Regions from separate parts of the Homo sapiens genome. Here all the other regions are linked to region 2. Evidence: promoter capture Hi-C in 16 types of primary human blood cells and fetal thymus (Javierre and others, 2016). All regions are on one chromosome and are shown on one strand. The core of a region is centred on a gene start or on the middle of the fragment in contact, and the rest is flanking DNA. Distances in the headings are between cores, read along the strand shown. Region 1 overlaps SMG6 (SMG6 nonsense mediated mRNA decay factor). Region 2 holds the start of SMG6 (SMG6 nonsense mediated mRNA decay factor). Region 3 overlaps SMG6 (SMG6 nonsense mediated mRNA decay factor). Region 4 overlaps SMG6 (SMG6 nonsense mediated mRNA decay factor).

Evidence for each region. The method cuts DNA at HindIII sites, captures the fragments that hold promoters and counts their contacts. A CHiCAGO score of 5 or more calls a contact.
Region 1: a contact is called between a fragment that was not itself captured here and the fragment with the promoter of SMG6 in region 2, in 2 of 17 cell types (naive CD8 T cells and activated CD4 T cells). The highest score is 5.4, in naive CD8 T cells.
Region 3: a fragment that was not itself captured here is called in contact with the fragment with the promoter of SMG6 in region 2 in 2 of 17 cell types (activated CD4 T cells and non-activated CD4 T cells); the score reaches 6.0 in activated CD4 T cells.
Region 4: a fragment that was not itself captured here is called in contact with the fragment with the promoter of SMG6 in region 2 in 3 of 17 cell types (activated CD4 T cells, naive CD8 T cells and non-activated CD4 T cells); the score reaches 6.4 in activated CD4 T cells.

The regions. Positions count from the first base shown.
Region 1 is chr17:2,121,756-2,125,229 of GRCh38, reverse strand. The region is part of intron 13 of SMG6 (SMG6 nonsense mediated mRNA decay factor); the gene reads left to right. Among named protein-coding and RNA genes, the nearest start is that of SMG6-AS1, 34 kb to the right of the region's middle. RefSeq lists enhancers at 1,277-1,326, 2,532-2,591. The HindIII fragment of the contact is 5,768 bases long and covers 1-3,474 here.
Region 2 is chr17:2,302,364-2,305,595 of GRCh38, reverse strand. SMG6 (SMG6 nonsense mediated mRNA decay factor) reads left to right here and starts at 1,811. Exons shown (of 19, transcript NM_017575.5): 1 at 1,811-1,963. The coding sequence starts at 1,876. It overlaps SRR (serine racemase), which reads right to left and starts at 1,646. Exons shown (of 8, transcript NM_021947.3): 1 at 1,579-1,646. RefSeq lists silencers at 1,562-1,781, 1,972-2,181 and enhancers at 1,683-2,409, 2,739-3,232. The HindIII fragment of the contact is 10,069 bases long and covers 1-3,232 here.
Region 3 is chr17:2,138,461-2,141,770 of GRCh38, reverse strand. The region is part of intron 13 of SMG6 (SMG6 nonsense mediated mRNA decay factor); the gene reads left to right. Among named protein-coding and RNA genes, the nearest start is that of SMG6-AS1, 50 kb to the right of the region's middle. RefSeq lists an enhancer at 2,553-2,752 and a silencer at 3,173-3,310. The HindIII fragment of the contact is 3,635 bases long and covers 1-3,310 here.
Region 4 is chr17:2,160,316-2,163,867 of GRCh38, reverse strand. The region is part of intron 13 of SMG6 (SMG6 nonsense mediated mRNA decay factor); the gene reads left to right. Among named protein-coding and RNA genes, the nearest start is that of SMG6-AS1, 72 kb to the right of the region's middle. The HindIII fragment of the contact is 5,496 bases long and covers 1-3,552 here.

The sequences.
Region 1 (3,474 bases), core at 8-2,507, 180 kb after region 2:
GAGGGCTACAAGTCTTGCCACATCAGACCCTGTCTCCTTCTCTATTTTCCCTTTGGAAATGTCTGTTTTTCTCCAGAGCCAAAGAGAACCTCTTGTTTTCCAAAAAATTAGCAAAAAGTAGACTCTGCTCTGGCAGGAATGGAACTCCTTCTGCCTCTTCCTATTTCCATAGAAGAAGAGACCATAGTGCCCCAAATGAGGTGTTTTTAAAAGAAATTCCTTCTCCAAATGGAGATGCTGATTATTTTATAGCAGCGTATGTACCTTGTTCATCATTCTGATGGGGTTCTCATGGGAACAGCAACAAAAAATGCCTTTCGGTGCCAATCATGGTTGTGCTCCCAATTGCATTTTCCTTGAGGGTCAGCAGTCTAAGAGATGCCTGCACGTTAGAAACAAAAAATAAAGAATAAACGCTGTAAATAATTAATTAAACCAGGAAACCCCCTTTCAGTGTCCATTCGTTTTTCTGCCATGTAAGAAGTAATGGTAGGATGCGGAAGACCTGTGTCCTTAGTACTGTTCCGTCTCCCTGCTGCCCCTTCCCCAGCTTCTCTCTAATGACTCCCCGGGGAGATCACAGGTCTCAGAGTAAACAGGAAACCTGACTAAGTAAAATAGGGAGTCTTAGAGCCTAGAGGGTAAGAGACACAGCTCTCCAGGAAGAAGATGCCTTTGGCCTTGGACAGCCAGGAGCAGTGGGTTTGTGGGGTTTTATATAAACACTCTGTTACGACTCTCTGCGGAGGAACCCTCCAATCCACTTTAGGCCAGAAATGGAACTTTGTTCCCTGGCCTGCCCATGACTACTCTACATCAGTCTCTCCTGAAAAGAGGCTAGAATATTACTTGTGTATTCAGAATTGGACTAACCCAGTAGTTAGCCAGTTCGCTAAAACTGATTTCTCTACCTTACTGCCCTGTGGCCTGTACCCCACCCTTATTGTCACCCCTTTCTTTGTACAGAGATAACTTCTTTACTGTAGCATTTGGGATTTCCCACACTACAGTTGATCTGTCACCGCACTACCAAAATGCCTCTGCCAACCACTTGGGTGTCCTGGTGTCAGAAGTTAGAAGTGCCCCAACTGTCCCACCCAGCCTGCTCAGCTCTCCTCTCTCTCTCCTGGGTTGTTGTTCTGGAATGATATTCCTCTTGGATTCAGTGTGTGCAGTCTGATTTGGGTGGAGCCTTGAGCTGTACACAGGAGTGCTGGTAATGTCTGGCCTTCAGTGCTGCCAAAGGCAAGAAGCTGGCCTCTCAGTGTAAAGCACATAGTTGGATTGCTGGGGCAGTGTTAAATGGAGGGTGGGGTGAGCAGATAGCACTCTCTTCCTGCTCTGTTTTCAGGAAGTGATTATAAAAGCAGCTCTAAGTTTGAATGAAATCAAAAGAATGAATTGTCACCTTCCCCCAACAAAAACCAGATGAGCACAAACATATACACAAACACACTCCTCCTCTGCACTCCATCCAAGATCCACACCCTGGCTCTGCCGGGCTTCACTTCGGTGCTATTTCAGAGCAAAGAGCCTTTGTTGTGCCATCTCCATTCTCTTCCCTGGGAGAGAGCTTAGTAGTCTTATGAATGAGAGCTCGACTTCCCTTTTGGCATACTGTGGGTTTCACTTCCCTGTCCTCTCTCCTTCCAAGAAGAGTGTGGGCAGAAGTGTATAGGTGGGAGGAATAACCATTGCCAAGATTTAATTCATCAGTTAGGGATTGGGGTTTCAGAACTGGTAATAAAATTGTTTGCAGTTAATTGTCAATGAAAGGAGTTTCTGTGCCGTTAACACACTTCCATTCCTTCCTTCCAGCTGCCTCTTTCCGTCGTACTGCCTTTTTCCTGGTACCTCCATGGGGTTTAAGCCATATGGCTCTTAGGAATATCGTTTGGAGTCTCCAGAAGTGGAAGATTTGGCTGTGCAGCACACAGCACCCCTGGGTCTACTCCTCCCCTCCCCTCTCAGCAGCTGTTTGCCACTGACCGAGGTGGCGACCAAGCCTATGTGTGTGGCCAGAGTCAGTGACAAGCCTCCCACCCAGGCCTGGGGAAGCCCTTAGCCAGCGCGGTTCCTGAGGCAGCCGCCAACACGCCAGGGTTTCCTCATACCTTCAGGGCTGCGGTGGAGCAGCCAGCGTTATGCGGCAGCATTGTCTAGCGTTGCTTCACTTGACTTCTCTGTCCCCACCCTCTGTGTTTAAGGGAATCTGGCCATCATCCAGCAGGGAAGAAGCTGGCATTTACAGAGAGTGGCTTTCTGCCACCCCTCATGTGGTAGGAGCCAGGACCACCTCCATCTCTGCTTCCTACCCATGTGGCAAAGAGGAAGGGGCCCCTCTGTGCTCAGTCTCCTGTTGTGGAGTTTCGAGTTGCCTAAGATGAGAATAAGGCTGTCTGCCAGGTTATCTGCCCAGATAAACATTTATTGTTTACAGGGACATGTTTCAGCTGCTCTGGCACCTCCCACTGGTGAGATCCTCTAGTATCTTGAGGTTTTAAGCCAGTATATGGGGCCGACGTCCAGACACAGAACTACTGGAGCTGGAGAGGCTAAGTGGCTCGCGGCTTCTAACTTAGCTTCGCCATTGCCCCCCGCCCCGCTTCCCACTGCCAGAGCTAGATTTACATCTCTTGTTCTTAGTTCTGCCTCCTGGATATTGAAGCTGCATCTACATTTTAAACCTTTCTAGCCTTTAGAATTTGGGGATTTATATGCGATCCAGTGTTAGGACACAGCAAGCTGAAGACTTCTTTTACATGGCAAAACCAGCCCTCTGACACTGTGTTTTCCTTAATAGCTAATGAGACAGCTGTTTAGTGACGGCAACAGGGATTGATGCAGATTTTCTTTTTTTAATCTGACTAGGTCCACTGCTTCCAGATATTGTCTTTTTATTTTTTTAGTGATGTGATTGATTTTCCAACATTTTATTATACAGCAAAGTTGAACATTCTCCAGTGAGCTCACTTATACCCAGTACCTACATGCTGTGATTCTCATTTTACTGTATTTGTCTTATCATGTTATCTGTTTATTTCTCTCTCTCCCTCTCTTCCCCCATCTATCCACCCATCCATCCATTTTTTCTTCTTTTAAATAATTTTTTTAATGCCTATAATCCTAGCACTTTGGGAGGCCAAGGCGGGCAGATTGCTTGCAGCCAGGAGTTCGAGACCATCCTGGCCAACATGGTGAAACCCCGTCTCTACTAAAAATACAAAAATGAGCTGGATGTGGTGACGGGCACCTATAATCCCAGCTATTCAGGAAGCTGAAGCATGAGAATTGCTTGAACCCAGGAGGGCAGAGGTTGCAATGAGCTGAGATTGCGCCATGCACTCCAGCCTGGGCGACAGAGTGAGACTATCTCAAAAGAAAAGAAAAGAAAAGACCAGCCTGGGCAACATGGCGAAACCCCATCTCCACAAAAAATACAAAAATTAGCCAAATGTAGTGGCTAGCACCTGT
Region 2 (3,232 bases), core at 562-3,061:
AAAAATTTCCACCAACGTAGTAAATTTTCTTCTACTATTTGATTATTGCTCTTCTGCAGTCAGCTGTATTATCCCCTTCTGGAACTCGTATTTAATTATTAATTTTTTGTACCCCTTCTCCATGTCTCCTATCTTTGTCTCTCAGTTTTTATCTATTACCTTTTCCTTCTGAGTTCTGGTAAATTTTCTTGAACTGGTTTAACTTTTGGCATATCTAATCTGCAGTTCACTGACACTGTTGCATTAAATGGGTGGTGCCATTTGTCCTAAGAAAGTTTTCTTGTTTTCCATTATTTTTCCAGCTGAAAAAAGAAATCATGCAATGGCCTCTCAAATTTCAATATGAAACAGATTATTTTTTAACGCTTCTTCCTATTTCTCTCAAATCTGGTGGCAAAGGCTGTCTTCTGCTCTGACCACTCAAATGGTTCCTCTTCTGAACTGTTGGATCTTTTCACCCATCATCTACTGACTTTCTTCTTATGCTTAACCTTCCGGTGACAAAGTGTCACGTAAAAGGAACTGAAGGAGTTCTGTCAGAGGTTGTGGCAATCCCTTCGGCTCAGACTAAGGAATAATTGGTAACTATTCTGTGATGGGTGTGGGGTAAAAGCCTATGGGGCTGTGGAGGGGCAACAGGTGGAGGCAGGAGGCCTTGGGGAAGGGAGCTTCACCTCTGTACAGTTCTCCAAAAAAAGATTCAAGTACCAGCCTTCTGGTATAGTTCAATTTTAAAGATGGGAAATTAAAAAGTCAACCTGAGATCCACAGCAGTAATTTTTTTCAAGAATCCATAGTGACACAGAAATTCCCAAATTGACTTTTTTTTTTTTTTGAGGCGGAGTCTCGCTCTGTTGGAGACTCCCGGGCTGGAGTGCAGTGGCGCGATCTCGGCTCACTGCAGTCTCCGCCTCCCGGGTTCAAGCGATCCGCCCGTCTCAGCGTTCCGAGTCGCCGGGATTACAGGTCCCAAATGGACTTATATGCCTCCTGATGTACTTCCTTCCACACGATTCCAACTATATCGTATCTAGTTTTTAAAAGTCAGGGGGCGGCCGGGCGCGGTGGCTCACGCCTGTAATCCCAGCACTTTGGGAGGCCGACGCGGGTGGATCACCTGAGGTCAGGAGTTCGAGACCAGCCTAGTGAAACCCCGTCTCTACAAAAAATACAAAAATTAGCCGGGCTTGGTGGCGTGCACCTGTAATCCCAGCTACTAGGGAGGCTGAGGCAGGAGAATCGCTTGAATCCAGGAGGCAGAGGTTGCAGTGAGCCGAGACCGCGCCACTGCACTCCAGCCCGGGAGTCTCCAACAGAGCGAGACTCCAACTAAAAAAAAAAGGGAATAGTAACAACTACTCTTAGCAGATCTTCAAGGTCCCAAGTAATGGCCCGCGGCGCTAGGCCGGGCCTGTGGCGGGAGAGCCTGGCCTAAGGTGTCCAGAGGAGCCCAGGCTGAGGGGTGTCTCTGTCAACCCGAGTCCCAGACTAGCAGTGTCCTTGGTGTCCACGACAACAGCAACGGCAGCCACCGCCGCAAACGCCCGCCTGGCCTGGCACGGCCCGGCCTCGCCTCACCTCAGCTCACCGGCGCCGCGCCTCCAGCTCCAGCCTCCGCGCGCCTCCCCGGCCGCACCTCTGCGCACGCGCAGCGCCCGCCCGCCCCACCCAGGCTCTCGCTCCGGTCCCGCCCCTCTGGAACCGGCGGCGGGCGCTTTTCCTCCCAGCGCGGCCACCGTCGTTCGGAAAGGGAGGGCGGCAGGGGGCGGGGAAAGGCCGGGAGGTGGGCGAGCGCGCGCGCCGCCCGTCTGTGGTGGTTTCCTGGCTGCGCGCGGCGGTGGCGGAGCCGCTACGGCTGTAGCAGCAGCCGCGAAGATGGCGGAAGGGCTGGAGCGTGTGCGGATCTCCGCGTCGGAGCTGCGCGGGATCCTGGCTACTCTGGCCCCGCAGGCCGGGAGCAGAGGTGAGTCGCGCCGCCCAGCTCCTGGGCCGGGCCTGCCCGCCCCGCCTCCCTCTCCTCCTCCTCTGCCTCCTCCCCGCTCGGCCCTCGGCTCCGGAGCCCCCGCCCCTTCCCCCAGCAGTAGGCGCTGGGGCCGCGGCGGACCCTCGCTGCCCTACCTCTCTCGCGGGTTAGTGCGGGGTCGGGCTCGGCCAGTCCTGGCCAGCTCCGGGAGAGCCTGGCCCGAATTCCTGCCTCCACCCTCTTTCTCGCCGCGAAGGTGACTGTTCCTTTTGCCCCAGCCCTCTCAGACCCGCCCCGGATTCCCAGGCATCGGGAGACGCGGAAAGGAGTGGGGTCTGGTGGAGGCCCCGGGCGTATCGCTCTCCAGGCCGCCCTCCGCGGGCCTGCCCCGGCCACCGCTTTAACGTCGGAGAGAAGGAATTGGGGAGAAAGGTTTAAGAGCCTGCGACTTCGTTGCTGAACTTTTCCCCCCCAAGACAGGCTTCCGAAAGCTGCGCCACTGGAGGGATCCGGGACCTCAGACTACTCGGGTTTGGCCCTGGCATGTGTGGGAGCAGTTTTTATTAGAGAGAATGCTCAATTTGCAAGTTAATTTCAAGTCTCCAGCCACGTCAGGAAAGTAAGAAAGATTCTAAGTGTCTCACCTCTCCTGCGTTAGGCAATAGAGTTGTGTAGAATGGTAGCTGTGATAGGTGCCTTCTCTAGGTTTGCGGCCAGTCTGTGAAATTGGTTTTTGTTGATTAACATAATTGGATTATTAAGGCTATTTTCTCCCGCTGCTCTAGAAAGTAGTAGGAATAGCTTTCCCCATCCCCCCGCCCCCCACCAAGTTACAGACTGCCGAGGGTGAGCTATTCTTGGGTTAAACTGCTTTATCTTTGTGGATACTTCATGAACCTACCTTTTAAACTTATGAAAATAGTGAAGCACTATCCAAAACCTCAGTCTCTTTTCTTCCCCTTTTCCTTACACCTACAAACAGTAAATGTACTTGCTGGAGCATATGATTCCTGTTTTGGGCTTGTTTCCATTTATATTTAGAGAGCAATACTAGGATTAAAAACTTTTTTATTGTTGTTATTATTATTTTTTGAGACGGAGTCTAGCTCTGTCGCCCAGGCTGGAGTGCAGTGGCGCGATCTCTGCTCACTGCAACCTCCGCCTCCCGGGTTCACGCCATTCTCCTACCTCAGCCTCCCCAGTAGCTTGGACTGTAGGCGTGTGCCACCACGCCTGGCTAATTTTTTGTATTTTTGTAGTGACGGGGTT
Region 3 (3,310 bases), core at 462-2,961, 160 kb after region 2:
GACAGTCACTATAAAAAGTTCCTCCTCAGGCTGAGTGAGGTGGCTTGTGCCTGTCATCTCAGCACTTTGGGAGGCCAAGGTAGGAGGAGCACTTGAGCCCAGGAGTTCAAGACCAGCCATGCAACATAGCAAGACCCTGCCTCTGCAAAAAAATTTTTTAAAAATTAGCGGGTATGGTGTGCACACCTGTGGTCCTAGCCATTCAAGTGGCTGAGGCAGGAGGATCACTTGAGCCCAGGATTTCAAGGTTACAGTGAGCTGTGATTGTGCCACTGCACTCCAGCCTGGGTGACAGAGCAAGACCGCATCTCTAAGAAAAAAAAGTTCCTTCTCAAACTGAACACAGCCTGCCTTCCTGTAATTCCCACTTAATGATTTTTTAAAAGTTTTCTCAAAATCACAAAGTCTGTTTTTTCTATATCTGACACACCTTAGTTATACTTGAAATTCTCTTTACGTTTTCTTTTCTCTAAGCTAAACAAACCAGTGCAATCAAATAGATTCTTGGCCAGTGCTGCGAAATATTATAGGACTTTATGTAATGATGCAGTGTTTAGTACTGTAATGATGGAAAGTTACTATTTCCACACCATCCTCTATGGTAGCCACTGGCCACATGTGACTTTTGAATACTTGAAATGTGGCTAGTGCAACCGAAAAACAAATCTTAATGTAGTTAAATTGAAATATCCACATGTGGCTAGTGGCTACTGTATTAAACACTGCAATTCTAGATCATTCTCCTGGCCAGATTTCTCTGTGCCATTACCAGCAGCATCAGATTCACCTGGGAACTTGTAATGTTTTAGGCCCTACCTCAGCCTTTTGAATCATAAACAGTTGAGGGTGGAGCCCAGCAGGCTCATTTAACAAGCTCTCCAGGTGATTCCAATGCACTAATACTTGAAAGGCAATTCCAGTTTGTCAAGGCTTCTGTAAAAAGCAGTGCTCAGACAAGGTCTGACATGCATGGATTTCACCTAAAGACAGCTTCAATGGCTTTTTTTTTTAATTGAATACTACTTTCTAAATATTGCATTGACTGCATGTTATAAAAATGAATACAATGTGGATATGAAGAATTTTTTTTTTTTTTTTTGAGATGGAATCTCACTCTGTCACCCAGGCTGGAGTGCAGTGGTGCAATCTCGGCTCACTGCAACCTCCGCCTCCCAGGTTCAAGCGATTCTCCTGCCTCAGCCTCCCAAGTAGCTGGGACAACAGGTGCGTGCTACCACACCCGGCTGATTTTTTTGCATTTTTAGTAGAGACAGGATTTCACCATGCTAGCCAGGATGGTCTTGATCTCCTGACCTCAGGATCCACCCACCTTGGCCTCCCAAAGTATTGGGATTACAGGTGTGAGCCATCGTACCCGGCCTGGATATGAAGAATTTAAAAAAATAAAGTGTCAGGCCAGGTGCAGTGGCTTACGCCTGTAACCCCAGCACTTTGGGAGGCTGAGGCATGCAGATCACTTGATATCAGGAGACCAGCTTAGGCAGCATGGCAAAACCCCATCTCTACTAAAAGTACAAAAACTAGTTGGGCATGGTTGCACATGCCTGTGGTCCCAGCTACTTGGGAGTTTGAGGTGGGAGGATCACTGGAGCCTGGGAGGCGGAGGTTGCAGTGAGCCGAGGTCTCACTACTGCACTCCAGCATGGGTGACAGAGTGAGACCCTGTCTCAAAAATAAAGTGCCCCTTAACAGTTTAAAAAAAATTAGTTAACAGGCAGTTTCCCAGCTGGGCGTGGTGGCTCACGCCTGTAATCCCAGCACTTTGGGAGGCTGAGGTGGGAGGATCACATGAGCTCAGGAATTCGAGAGCAGCCTGGGCAACATGGTGAAATCCCATCTCTACTAAAAATACAAAAATTAGCCGGGTATGGTGGCATGCGCCTGTAATCCCAGCTACTTGGGAGGCTGAGGCAGGAGAATCGCTCAAACTCAGGAGGTAGAGGTGACAGTGAGCCAAGATCACACCACTGCACTCCAGCCTGGGTGACAGAGCGAAACTCCATCTCAAAAAAAAAATTTGTTTGTTAAATGTCTTGGCACAGTGGCTCACACCTGTAGTCCCAGCACTTTGGGAACCAAGGCAGACAGATCACTTGCGGTCAGGAGTTCAAGACCAGCCTGGCCAACATGGCGAAACCCCGTCTCTACTAAAAATACAAAATTAGCCAGGCATGGTGGCGCACGCCTGTGATCCCAGCTCCTTGGGAAGTTGAGGCTGGAGAATCGCTTGATGCCGGGAGGCCAAGGGTGCAGTGAGCTGAGATCGCGCCACTGCACTCCAGCCTGGGTGACAGAGTGAGACTCCATCTCAAAAAAAAAAAAAAGAAAAAAGCAGGCACTTTTCCATAAGTTTCACACGGTCTTATAGTACTAGAACCCTGAGCTCTTGATTGTCAGTCTGGCGTGCTTTCCATCTCTTAGGCTGTTTGGTGAAATAGGCCTCACTGTTTGGTTTGGTGTCTCCCAGAAGAGAAAAATCTGGTTCCTTGGCATTTATTTTACCTACCCCATTTGGGGGCTGTTTCTTCTGCCTTTTCTTGCACAACTTCCCCATTGTTAGATGCCTCTGTAGTCACTCCCAATACCCTGGAAACATCTCCCTTTTTTAGGGTTTAACAGACTTCACCTGTATAGTTACTGTCTTTTAATATGACTTTCGTCCTCTTATGCTTGAAACCTAGAAGAGGAGCTGGCTTGTTCTGCTGGCCTTGAGCCAGATGTCATAACTTCAGGCAGTGCCACGCTACACATCTCCAGCAGTTTGGAATGGAGAACAGAGTTAGAGATAAGATCAGCAGCTTTAGGTGATGGCTTTGTTTCAAATAAACCATGCATGACCCAAGCCTCCACTTCAAATGGGGAATGAAATTGCTTTATCCTTTGACAGCTTGCTCTATGAAATACATTTATCTTCACTTAATTGCTTTAGATCCCAAGAGGCTACATACAGTAATTTCTAGGAGATAATTATATCAAATTTTAAAAATATGTGACTGTGGACATGAATATGTAACTGCAGTGGACAGGGAGGGAGAGAGGTGGGGGAAACCAAAAGTCCTGCTGACCTTGCTGGTAAGTTTCCATTCTTATTCTTAGAGTTTCCTTGGGTCATAGACCACTTACTCTCTGAATCTGCTGATTCATATGTGGGGTCCTTTGTACCCCATGCTGCTAGGGTTAAAGCATCTGGTCTACTACTCCTGTAGCTGGATAGTGTTTTGCTCAGTCTCCTCCTGAAACTGGGAGGGGTCAGGCTGGTGGCTGACTTCCGGTTATATGTCTTCATTTA
Region 4 (3,552 bases), core at 256-2,755, 140 kb after region 2:
TGGTCGCGAACTCCTGACCTCAAGTGATCTGCTGCCCTCAGCCTTAGAGAATAAACAACTACATAACCACCAAGCAAGCAGCTCAAGAAACAGAATAAGATAAGGGCGGTGAGTTACCAGTTCCATTCAGTCTGTGTTGGTCCTAGTCAGTACAGTAAGACGTGAAAAAAAAAAAAATGAAGTATTAATAAGACTGTTGGAAGGGAAAAAATAAAGCTGTTTTTATTTGTAGATAATAACATGATACATTTAGAAAATCCCCAAAAAGCATAAATTATTAGAATTATTCTCATAATAAGTAAATGTAGCAAAGTTGCTGGATATGAAGCCATTGTACAAAAATCAATCCCATATCTACATATTAGAATCAAACAAAATGAAGATTTGGTGCCTGGCACAGTGGCTCGCACCTCTAATCACAGCACTTTGGGAGGCCAAGGTGGGAGGATCACCTGAGCCCAGGAGTTCGAGACCAGCCTGGGAAACACAGCATCTCTACTAAAAATTTAAAAAATCAGCTGGGCTTGGTGGCCTCCGTCTGTGGTCCTAGCTACTTGAGAGGTTGAGGTGGGTGAATCACTTGAGCCCAGGAGGTCGAGGCTGTAGTGAGCTGTGATCATACCACTGCATTCCAGCCTGAGTGACAGAGCAAGACCCTGTCTAAAAAATAAATAAAATAATCTTTGTATTACAAAATAAATGTTCATTTAGAAATACTTTACAAATTAAGATTAGCAGCCAGGCATGTTGGCTCACACCTGTAACGCCAGTACTTCAGGAGGCTGAGGCAGGAGGATCGCTTGAGCCCAGGAGTTCAAGACCAGCCTGGGCAATATAATGAGACCTTGTCTCTATAAAAAATTAAAAAATCAGTCAGGTGTGGTGGTGTGCATCTGTAGTCCCAGCTACTTGAGAGGCTGAGGTGGGAGGATCACTTGAACCAAGGAGGCAGAGGTTGTACTCAGCCTAGATTGCACCACTGCACTCCAGCCTGGGCCACAGAGGGAGACCCTTTCTCAAAAAAAGAGAGGAAAATCAAGATTAGCAATACGGAAAAGAAAAGATTTTCTTGATCCACTACCCAGAGATAACTACTGTTTCTTGTTCCATGTTGCTGCATATGTTCCAACCTAGAAGGATGGCTGATAGGTAGATGGATGACTGGATATAAGTGAAGTTTTTTGGTTATTTGTTTATTTATTAGAGACAGGATCTCAGCTGTGTTCCTCAGGCTGGTCTTGAACTCCTGGCTTCAAGCAGTATTCCCGCCTCAGCTTCCTGAATAGCTGGGATTGCAGGTACAAACCACCATGTCCAGCACTGATTTTTTTTTTTTTTTTTTTTTTTTTTCTGAGATGGGGAGTCTCACTCTGTCGCCCAGGCTGGAGTGCAGTGGTGCAATCTGGGCTTATTGCAAGCTCCACCTCCTGGGTTCACACCATTCTCCTGCCTCAGCCTCCCGAGTAGCTGGGACTATAGGCGCCCACCACCACGCCTGGCTAATTTTTTTTATATTTTTAGTAGAGACGGGGTTTCACCATGTTAGCCAGGATGGTCTCGATCTCCTGACCTCGTGATCTGGCCGCCTCGGCCTCCCAAAGTGCTGGGATTACAGGCGTGAGCCACCTCGCCTGGCCAATTTTTGCTTTTTAACAGAAATAGAATCAAACTTTATGTTTTGTTTTGTAATGTACTTTGTTCACTTAGCAATAAATATATATTTCCATGTTTACCTATAACATGAATTTAAGAGCTGCACAATATTGTATGAATATATTATAATATTTGTTTAGTCCTCAATCATTAGATGTTTTATAGGAAGTTATTGACTTTTATCTGTTGTATAAACGATGCCATCTCAGGGAGCCTTACACATAAGTCTTTTGTTCTTACCCTTTGAGATAGTTTCTCCTTCTTAGACCTCCCTCTCTATCATTTCATAGATATTTAAAGGGACTCAGAATAGTTCCCGAGGATAAACAAAGAAGGAAAGGTTCATATGAGTGGAATAGAATGCTCAGACTGAATTTATCAGCATCTTTCCCTCTGGATTGAATGTTCTTCAAATCTTGGAATGCCCTGGATTCAAAAGCACCTCAAAGTCTAGAATTTGAGTCTTTGAAGAGAGAATTTGATTTTTTTTTTTTTTAGACAAATCCTTGAGACTTGAGAGTGCTCTGAGTGGTACTAAATGTATGTAGTCTTATCTACATCATTTAGGAGGTGTGTTCAAGGGCAAAAATATAAGAGTAGTGGCAGTGCAATGTCTGAGGACCAGAAGATCAGGACAATGTCCTGGACTCCAAACTTTGGAGGCAAGATTGCTTATAGATGAACAGTAATTAATGATGATGACTGGTATATGAAAACCTGAAGATTAGTGAGCCGAGGTCGCACCATTGCACTCCAGCCCGGGTGACAGTGTGTGAGACTCTGTCTCAAAAAAAAAAATAAATAAATAAAGGCCGGGATTGGTGGCTCATGCCTGTAATCCTAGCACTTTGAGAGGCCGAGGCAGGCTGATCAACCTGAGGTCGGGAGTTTGAGAACAGTCTGGCCAACATGATGAAACCCCATCTCTACTAAAAGTACAAAATTAGCCAGGCTTGGTGATGCACGCCTGTAATCCCAGCTACTCGGGAGGCTGAGGCAGAATTGCTTGAACCCAGGAGGCAGAGGTTGCAGTGAGCCAAGATCGCGCCCCTGCACTCCAGCCTGGGCAACCAGAGCAAAACTCCATCTCTAAAAAAAAAAAAAAAAAAGGGTCAGTTATGTGAGCATGCCTACCTGCCTAGCCTTCCTACCTACCTACCTACATACATACATACAACCTTTGTCTCAAGACTTAATAAATATAAAATTAAAATTGGTTAAGAGGAGAATGTATGATAGAAAAAGAAACTTTGATTTAAACTTCTGCCCTGGTACTTTTTGTCTCACCCTTTTTAGTTTTCTTTACTAATATAATATCATATATGTAAAAGAATATATATTTTTACTTCATAATTATATTTACTTTTATTTTATTTATTTTTTTGAGACAGGGTCTTGCCCTGTTGTCCAGGGTGGAGGGCAGTGATACAATCATGGCTCACTGCAGCCTTGACTTCCCAGGCTCAAGCAATCCTCCCACCTCAGTCCCTTGAGTAGCTGGGGACTATAGGCGCACGCCATCACACCTGGCTAATTTTTAAATTTTTTGTGGAAACGGGGTCCCACTATGTTGCCTGGGCTGGCCTTGAACTCCTAGGTTTAGGTGATCCTCCTGCCTTGGCATCCTAAAGTGCTGGAATTACAGGCATGAGCCACTGTACCCAGCCCATAATTTTAGATATTCAAAACAATTGAAGGCCAGGCGCGGTGGCTCATGCCTGTAATCCCAGCACTTTGGGAGGCCGAGGCAGGCGGTTCACCAGAGGTCAGGGGTTCGAGACTAGCCTGGGCAGTATGGTGAAACCCTGTCTCTACTAAAAATACAAAAATTAACCAGGTTTGGTTGTGCACCCTGTAATCCCAGCTACTTGGGAGGCTGAGGCACAAGAATCACTTGAA